2 separate regions of the Homo sapiens genome follow, and region 2 is linked to region 1. The links are contacts of gene promoters, found by promoter capture Hi-C in human tissues and cell types (Jung and others, 2019). All regions are on one chromosome and are shown on one strand. The core of a region is centred on a gene start or on the middle of the fragment in contact, and the rest is flanking DNA. Distances in the headings are between cores, read along the strand shown.

Region 1 (3,864 bases), core at 617-3,116:
TCATCACAGAGACTGTTATTGGACAGTGCTGCCTTAGAGACGTGGGCTGCAGGACTTCCACAAGAAGGCCTGGATATCAGACACCAGCATTCAAATTTCTTCCCAGTGCTGTGGAATGTGGTAGACCCTTGGAAGTCCAGTATCTGAACATGCTGGTCACCACCGTATACTAGTGACCAGAGGATGCCTTTCTTCAGCTGCTTGGCATTCTGCCAGCATGAATTCCTAGCACGGGAAAGATGGCAGGTGATCTGAATTACTTGGGGTTATGGTGTATTTGAGTGACCTCACTATATTTGGGAAGGCGCTGGAAAAACACGAAAAGAATGTTAGAAAGGGCTGGAATAAAACTACAGGAGTCCCCTCTTTATCCACGGTTTTGTTTCCCAGTTTTAACTACTCATCATCAACCACGATTTGAAAATATTAAATGGGAAAATTACAGAAATAAACAGTTCATTTATTACATACTATTCTGAGTAGCATGATGAAGCCTTGTGCCATCTCGCTGTGTCGTGCCAGCACCTGAATCATCTCTTTGTGCATAAAAGCAAAACTACCGACTGCCCAGTTCTAGTGCTTCCAGTTACACCTCTGCCCAAAGTCCTTCACTGGAGGAAGAGAAATTTCTCTTCTCTCTGCCAGAGAGAAACAGGAAGGGAGGAAGAGCCACACAATTGAAATCAAGTCAAGGCAAGCACCACAGGTTCTTGTCATTTGTGCTTAGCGGACTTAGCTGATGGAAATCGGCAAAGATCATCCCAAAGCTCACACAACTCCCTGCCTGCTCTCTCTCTCTTCCAAGGTCTGGAAAAGGAAGTGGCAGCTGAGTTGCGGGGGTGGGTGGCGGTGGGAAGGTATTATTATTCAACCACTTTTTAACTCTTATATTGTCATATTATTGTGTTAGGAGCTTCATACGCATTAATCCTAACATTCACAACAATACTGTAAAATAGATATTGTTACCCTTATTTAACACCGATGATATTCTAGGGCTCAAAGAGGTGGTATGACTTGCCCGGCAAGATCTTGGACTTGAAAGTCTGAGGCTTCCATTCTCCACCACAATTTACGTTTATTCACGGGCATCCATTGTTTCAGACTCATGACAACCGTGTAAAGTAGCACGGAGTAGGTAAGTGATTTGCCCAAGGGCACACAGCAAGGGAGAGGTTGTAATCTTTAATGATAATTTGTTTCTTTTTTTCTTAAAGGGGACTTTTTTTTCTCCTGTACCACCAAGCCAGTACATCTATGTCCTCCCAGAAAATATTTATTACCTCTTGTAGCAAGGGTGAAGATATTGAATACAACACAGAGGCTGAGAAATGTTACCTCCCTAGACCCAGGGTGGAGTGAGCAGGCAGGTGTAATGCAAGAAATAACTTTCACATTTTCTCCTTGGAGATAAGAACAAGGTCTAAAAATCAGGTTTGAGATTTTGTAGCCTTTCGGCTTGTAAGTGTCATGAAATTTCCCTATCAGCCTCATCTACTAGCTCCCTGGGTCTCTCTCTCTCTCTTTCTCTTTTTCCCCACCTCCCCACTCTGCCCATAGGGAGTTGACCTTCACAGTTGCCTTTCAGTAGTCAACATGCCAGGATGCCTCCAGTCTGGGGGAAAATGCTTCCTCATTTGCTTCTCCCAGCCCACCTCAAGCAGTCTCCCCACCCCTTGAGTCTCAGCAGTGTTAAAGCTGTTACTTTCACAGCTTCCTGGGAGCGAGTGCTTTCTCAAGCCCGTCTTGCAAGGTGGGTCCTTTTTTGTTTTTGGCAGAAGGGAGGGACAGTGAAATGTGCTCTGAGTAGGGACGGTTATGCAAAAGCAAGTAGGAGGAGGAAGCCAAGAGGGGAGTTGGTGAGTCAGAGGAGAAAAGCGCATGGCCCGGCTAGCAGTGAGCCTCTCAAAAGCAGCAGGGAAGCCCAAGCCACAAGGTAAGAAGAGAATTTCTGTGTACGACTCCAATGCAGAGCCATTACCCAGAGCTGCTGGAGCAAGAGTATCAGATAACCTCTGGCAGCTAAGCTAGAGATTACAGTGGCGAAGGCGGTTTGCGCAGAGGGGATAAATCAGATCACCTGGGGAATTTTCTGGGTAAAATAAAACACAAGCTGCTTACCAGCAGCCCCCAAGCCCCACTAGCTCTATCCCTAAATGGGTCCAAAAGAGCCCAGAGAGCAGATCAGGCTGTTCTGATGTATATTTTGTAGATGGTCCCCTGGTGCCAACTGACTCGTTCAGATCCTGGCTTTGGAGCTCAAATTTCTGTACTTCCTGCAGCTTCTCCTCTGTTTTCTGCTGGGGAGTGGAAGACAGGAGGTGCAAGGAGCTGTAGGTTTTCTCTAGCTCAGGAGAGGGACAGTGTGATCATTGAAAATTCTCAGCCCTGGGATCCCCAAAACCTGGGTTCTGATCCAGAAAAGGCTATTTATACCGGATGAGCCAGTCAATTAAAGTTTAGTTTATTTATTCTGAAAAATGAAGAAATGTCTCATCACTGTCTAAAATATCTAACCGATCAGTATCATAATTGCAGCTAAAAGGGCTTTAAAAATGTGGAACACCACGCACATGTGCAATATGATTAAGTTATGGTGCCAACATATCAGCTATGGTAGAAGATACGTCTATCTTGCATGGCCTTGGACAAGTATGAAACTTCTAATTGGAATTGAAATACTTTTCTATGTGTAAAATAAATGTAATATTGTCGATGAAAAGAGTCAGACTCTGTGACATATTTGAAGAGATTTATTCTGAGCCAAATATGAGTGACCATGGCCGGTGACACAGCCCTCAGGAGGTCCTGAGAACATGTGTCTAAGGTGGTCGGGGTGCAGCTTGGTTTTATACACTTTAGGGAGACATGAGACTTCAATCAAATACATTTAAGAAATACATCTAGCCAGGCGCGATGGCTCGCGCCTGTAATCCCAGCACTTTGGGAAGCTGAGGCAGGTGGATCACCTGAGGCCAGGAGTTCAAGACCAGCCCGGCCAACATGGCGAAACCCTGTCTGTACTAAAAATACCAAAAAAATTAGCTGGGCATGGTGGCAGGCACCTGTAATCCCAGCTACTCAGGAGGCTGAGGCAGGAGAATCGCTTGAAACCGGGAGGCTGCAGTGAGCCGAGATCCTGCCATTGCACTCTAGCCTGGGCAACAAGAGCAAAACTCCATCTCAAAAAAGAAAAAAGAAAAGAAAAAAGTACGGGTCTGTCGCCCAGGCTGGAGTGCAGTGGTGCGATCTCGGCTCACTGCAACTGAGAGGAAGCCTTCAGATAGCAGGCTTCAGAGAGAATAGGTTGTAAAATGTTTCTTATCAGACTTAAGGTCTGTGTTGGTGTTAATGCTGGAGAGGTATGATGAGGCATGTTAGATCCCCACTTCTTGTCATGGCCTGAAACAGTCTCTCAGGTTAAATTTTAAAAAGACCCCTGGCTGGGCACAGTGGCTCATGGGTGTAATCACAGCACTATTAGGAGACTGAGGTCACTTGAGGTCAGGAGTTCGAGACCTGCCTGGCCAACATGGCAAAACCATGTCTGTACTAAAAATACAAAAAATTAGCCAGGTCACTCGGGAGGCTGAGGCAGGAGAAGCGCTTGAACCTGAGGAGTCGAGGTTGCAGTGAGCTGAGATCGTGCCACTGCACTCCAGCCTGGACAACAGAGCAAGACTTCATTTCAAAAAAAAAAAAAAAAAAAAGAGTCCTGGCTGAGGAGGAAGTCCTTTCAGATGGTTGGGGGGCCTTAGAATTTTATTTTTGGTTTATAATATCTTGCTCAATCTTCCTTTCTGGGTCTCATATAGTAAAAAAAAAAACACTGTACAAATATATGTTCACTTGTCATTTGTTGAA
Region 2 (3,703 bases), core at 896-3,395, 160 kb before region 1:
CAGGATGTGGTTTGATAAGAAGTTAGAAGTGATGGTTGCCATGGTAACCACGTCTTTATCGATGTCTTTATCGATGCCCATCCGCATGAGCCTTGCTTGGTGACCAGTCACCCCACCCGCTGCAAGAGGGTCATAGAAACATCAGACCATTCACTCAGTGCCGATGTCATCCTAGAAGGGTGTGCACCAGCCCCTCCTCTACCCCAGCCTCTAGTGATAAGGGCTTCCTGCAGATGGATGGGGAGTTGCTTTGAGGGAAGCCAGAGCAGCGAAGGCCATTTGCCATCCACAATCGAGGGCTGGGTGTGGAGTGTCCCTTCTGGGCCCTGCAGCGCCACCTGCCGATCTCTCCTGTGTTCCTCACTGTCTGCCATCAGCTGCCTGTCTGCCTGCCTCTCCCAGGCTGACCATTGATGCTCTTGGGAAATGGGCCCACATCTAAAACTTGGTGATAGCTCCCTGAGCACCAGGCACAAAGTGGAACAGTGGCTCAGTTCAAAACATCAAGGCTTACTGCATTGAACCACATTTCTGCCTTTTGTTGAGGTGCCCAGAGGGAGGTAGTGGAATTCCTAGTGTGGGGAGGGGGGTTCCTCCTGCCCCGGGAACCTCCTGCTGCCTGTGCTGCACAAGCTGAATTCAGAGAGGCGGCTTCTCTCCACAGGGCTGCCCTTCTAGCTCCTGGACCCCTTTCCCTGCCTCCAGTTTTCCTCCTTCCTTTCTCTGCCCCCTTCCCAGAGGCTGAGGCTTCTTGGGAGGTCTTCCCTGCTCATCCTTTCCAAGAAGCCCTGGAAGTCGATCTCTACTCTATGACACCATCATTCTTTCATTGCTCTCGACACTGGAAACACCATGTTTAAATTCATTTCCTTGCTTATTATCTGTCCCCTGCCCCACCCACACCCCATTACAGCATAAGCCCCACCATGGCAGGACCTAGCTGGCCTTTGCACCTCCAGTGCCTGCACAATGCAGATGCTCAATAAAGGTTCCTCCAATGGTCCAGGCACGGTGGCTCACGCCTGTAATCCCAGCACTTTGGGAGGCCAAGACAGGTGGAGGATTTAAAGACCAGCCTGGGCAACATGGCAAAACCCTGTCTCTACCAAAAACAAACAAACAAAAAATTATTCAGGCATGTGCCCGTCGTCCAAGCTACTTGGGAGGCTGAGGTGGGAGGACGGCTTGAACCCAGGACATTAGGCTGCACTGAGCCGTGATCCAGCCACTGCACTCCAACCTGAGTGACAGAGCAGACCCTGTCTAAAAATAAAATAAAATAAAAATAAAAAAATTCCTCAAATGAATGAATGAGTGAATTAAGCCTGGATCAGGAATTAGGACACTTCCGTTCTGGTCCTCCCTGGCTGTGTGGTCCTGAGCAAGTTGCTTGCCTTCTGTGTCCTGTGCCTCAGTGTCTTCTGTCACCAGAAAAGGATTCTACTCTGCCATGCCCGTGTGTCTGGAAAGATTATGTGTGGGTTCATTTCCCCCACAGCAACCCACACAGGTCTTACCCATAGTGAGGGCTCAAATTATCTGCTGGAGCAAAGAAAGACGGCAAAAGCGCTTTGAAAAGTTAAAGACATTCCACTGACCTTCAGCACTTTCCTGCTGGGCGAGGCACTGGATGATTGTCTGAGTTTCTTGAGGTTGTTAAACCTCCTTCAAACCTTTCTAGAAAAAAAGATGGAGTAAAAATAAATACTTATTCTAAGTTCCAGAAAAACTCCAAGGAAAAGATGGCCCCTAGAGATCTGTACTTTACTTCTTTGGGTTCAGAGCGTTCAGTGGGGCGGGGCTCCGTGCTAGCCTTGCCTGCTCTAGCCTCCCTCTGCTCCCCTAAATCTTTCCAACCTGAAGAAAGCAGCCCAGGGCCAAGGTGTTTGCAGCATGGGCGGGAAGCACAAACAGCAGCCATAATGGCAGTGTCCGCCGGCATGTTTGAGGCTCGCTGCAGGCCAGCGCTGCGAGTGTATTATTATCCTCTTTAATCTTCATGGCAGCTGCATGAGGAGGGTGCTATCATTGTCCCCATTTCACAGGAGAAGAAACTGAGGTTCACAGAGGTGGTGTCCTCTAATCTGGGTACGACAGAGGGAGGAGAAGAACCAGGTGTCGGTGCCTCAGCAAGAAAGGCCAGTCACTCTGCCGCCCCCCAAATGGTAGGTGAAGGGGCCAGAGAAGAAATGGCAGAACATGAAGGACCTGGTGCAAAACAGGGCTCCACAGAGGGATGACGGACCCTGTTCAGAGCTAAGTGGAGGCGGCTCTTGGAAACATACCATGCTGCTCTGCGGGCTTCCCCTACCCAGTTCCTTTCAGCCACCTCCCGATACACTCATGAAACATATACTCGCTCCTGTGTCCGCCCAGCCCTGGCTCCTGTGGCCTCTGCTTCACTGAACCATGACACGCACTCGTGGTGCCAGCTCTGAGCCCCCACCTCCTGCCCTAGCCTCGGGCTTCTGGAAGCTGCAGATGCACCCAGGGCTGAGCTCAGCTTTCCACCTCCCCGTCTGACTCTACAAAGCCTCCGAGAAGAATGTGACTTTGCCTTCTCAGTTGAGAAGAAATTGCACCTCAGTGATAGGAGAATAGCCAGATCGCTGCAGGGAGTAACCAGGAAGAGAAAAATTACTCATTCTTCCAACTCAGAGCATCATCAACTAGACGATGTCTTTTTGCCTAGAAAGCCCATCTCCCTGTCCCTCACTCCCCTACTTTAGCCGGCCTCACAGGAACCACACTCTTCTGAAATTCCAGTTCTCCTAAGAAGCTTTACAAACATCCTAGAAGGAAGATAACCACCCCATCCTAGGATAAAAGGGAACTCAAATCTCATTCTGCGAGCCCATTGCAATCATGTCTTTTCCCTGCAGACAAAAATACATAATTTATCTCATGTGATTCGTGCCATACAATATTTATTGTGGCATATTCTTCACTCGAGAGTGCCTCTAAGTTTATTAAGAATTTAAATTCTCAGGGGGCCCTAGGAGGAGAGGCTGGGAAAAGCCTCCCCCCACAACCCCTCACAGAGGCTGGGGTAAATGCTCCTTTATTTTCTCTGTTGCGTTTGTAATTCCATTTGCCCTTGGTGAAAGCTACCACCTCCCTTCCCATTCGAGTTGAATCTCCTCTACGGGAATCTTGCTCAAGGGCTTTAGATCAAATTTGGAACTTGATGTTAGGTCAGTGGTTTTCAAACTTTGCTGCACAGGAAATCACCTGGGAGTGTTAAAAAAAAAAAAATCATGGTGCTTAGTTCACACCCCAAACAAATTGCATCAGAAAGTCTAGAGGTGGGGGCCAGATATCCATATTTTTTTTAAGATCCCTGGGTGCCAGGTACCTGTAATCCCAGCTACTTGGGAGGCTGAGGCAGGAGGATCACTTGAGCCCAGGATTTTGGGGCGGTAGTATGTTATGATCACACTTATGAATAGTGCTGAACTCTAGCCTGGGCAACACAGCAAGACCCTGTCTCAAAAAAAAGGAAAAATCCCCAGGAGATTCTTTGCCACAGCAAAGTCTAGGAGGCACGGCCTGAGCCCTGCCTGATTTCCCACCCACAAATGCCTCCTTCCCCATCACAGCACTGACCAGTGACCTTGACCATGCATTCAGCTCAGTCCTGGTCTCTAGTAGACCATCCAGGCTCAAGGCGTGAGAGCCTAAAGGACCTCTCACTACTTATGTG

The links. The method cuts DNA at HindIII sites, captures the fragments that hold promoters and counts their contacts. A contact is called where the count stands out against the background at its distance.
Region 2: a fragment that was not itself captured here is called in contact with the fragment with the promoter of CHST4 in region 1 in 1 of the 25 tissues and cell types used here (thymus).

The regions. Positions count from the first base shown.
Region 1 is chr16:71,524,560-71,528,423 of GRCh38, forward strand. It overlaps CHST4 (carbohydrate sulfotransferase 4), which reads left to right and starts at 1,867. Exons shown (of 2, transcript NM_001166395.2): 1 at 1,867-1,936. RefSeq lists an enhancer at 1,500-2,110. The HindIII fragment of the contact is 30,806 bases long and covers 1-3,864 here.
Region 2 is chr16:71,367,241-71,370,943 of GRCh38, forward strand. The region is part of intron 1 of CALB2 (calbindin 2); the gene reads left to right. It overlaps LOC105371332 (a long non-coding RNA gene), which reads right to left. Exons shown (of 5, transcript XR_933714.3): 4 at 1,599-1,677; 5 at 9-119. Among named protein-coding and RNA genes, the nearest start is that of CALB2, 10 kb to the left of the region's middle. RefSeq lists an enhancer at 106-400. The HindIII fragment of the contact is 3,725 bases long and covers 284-3,703 here.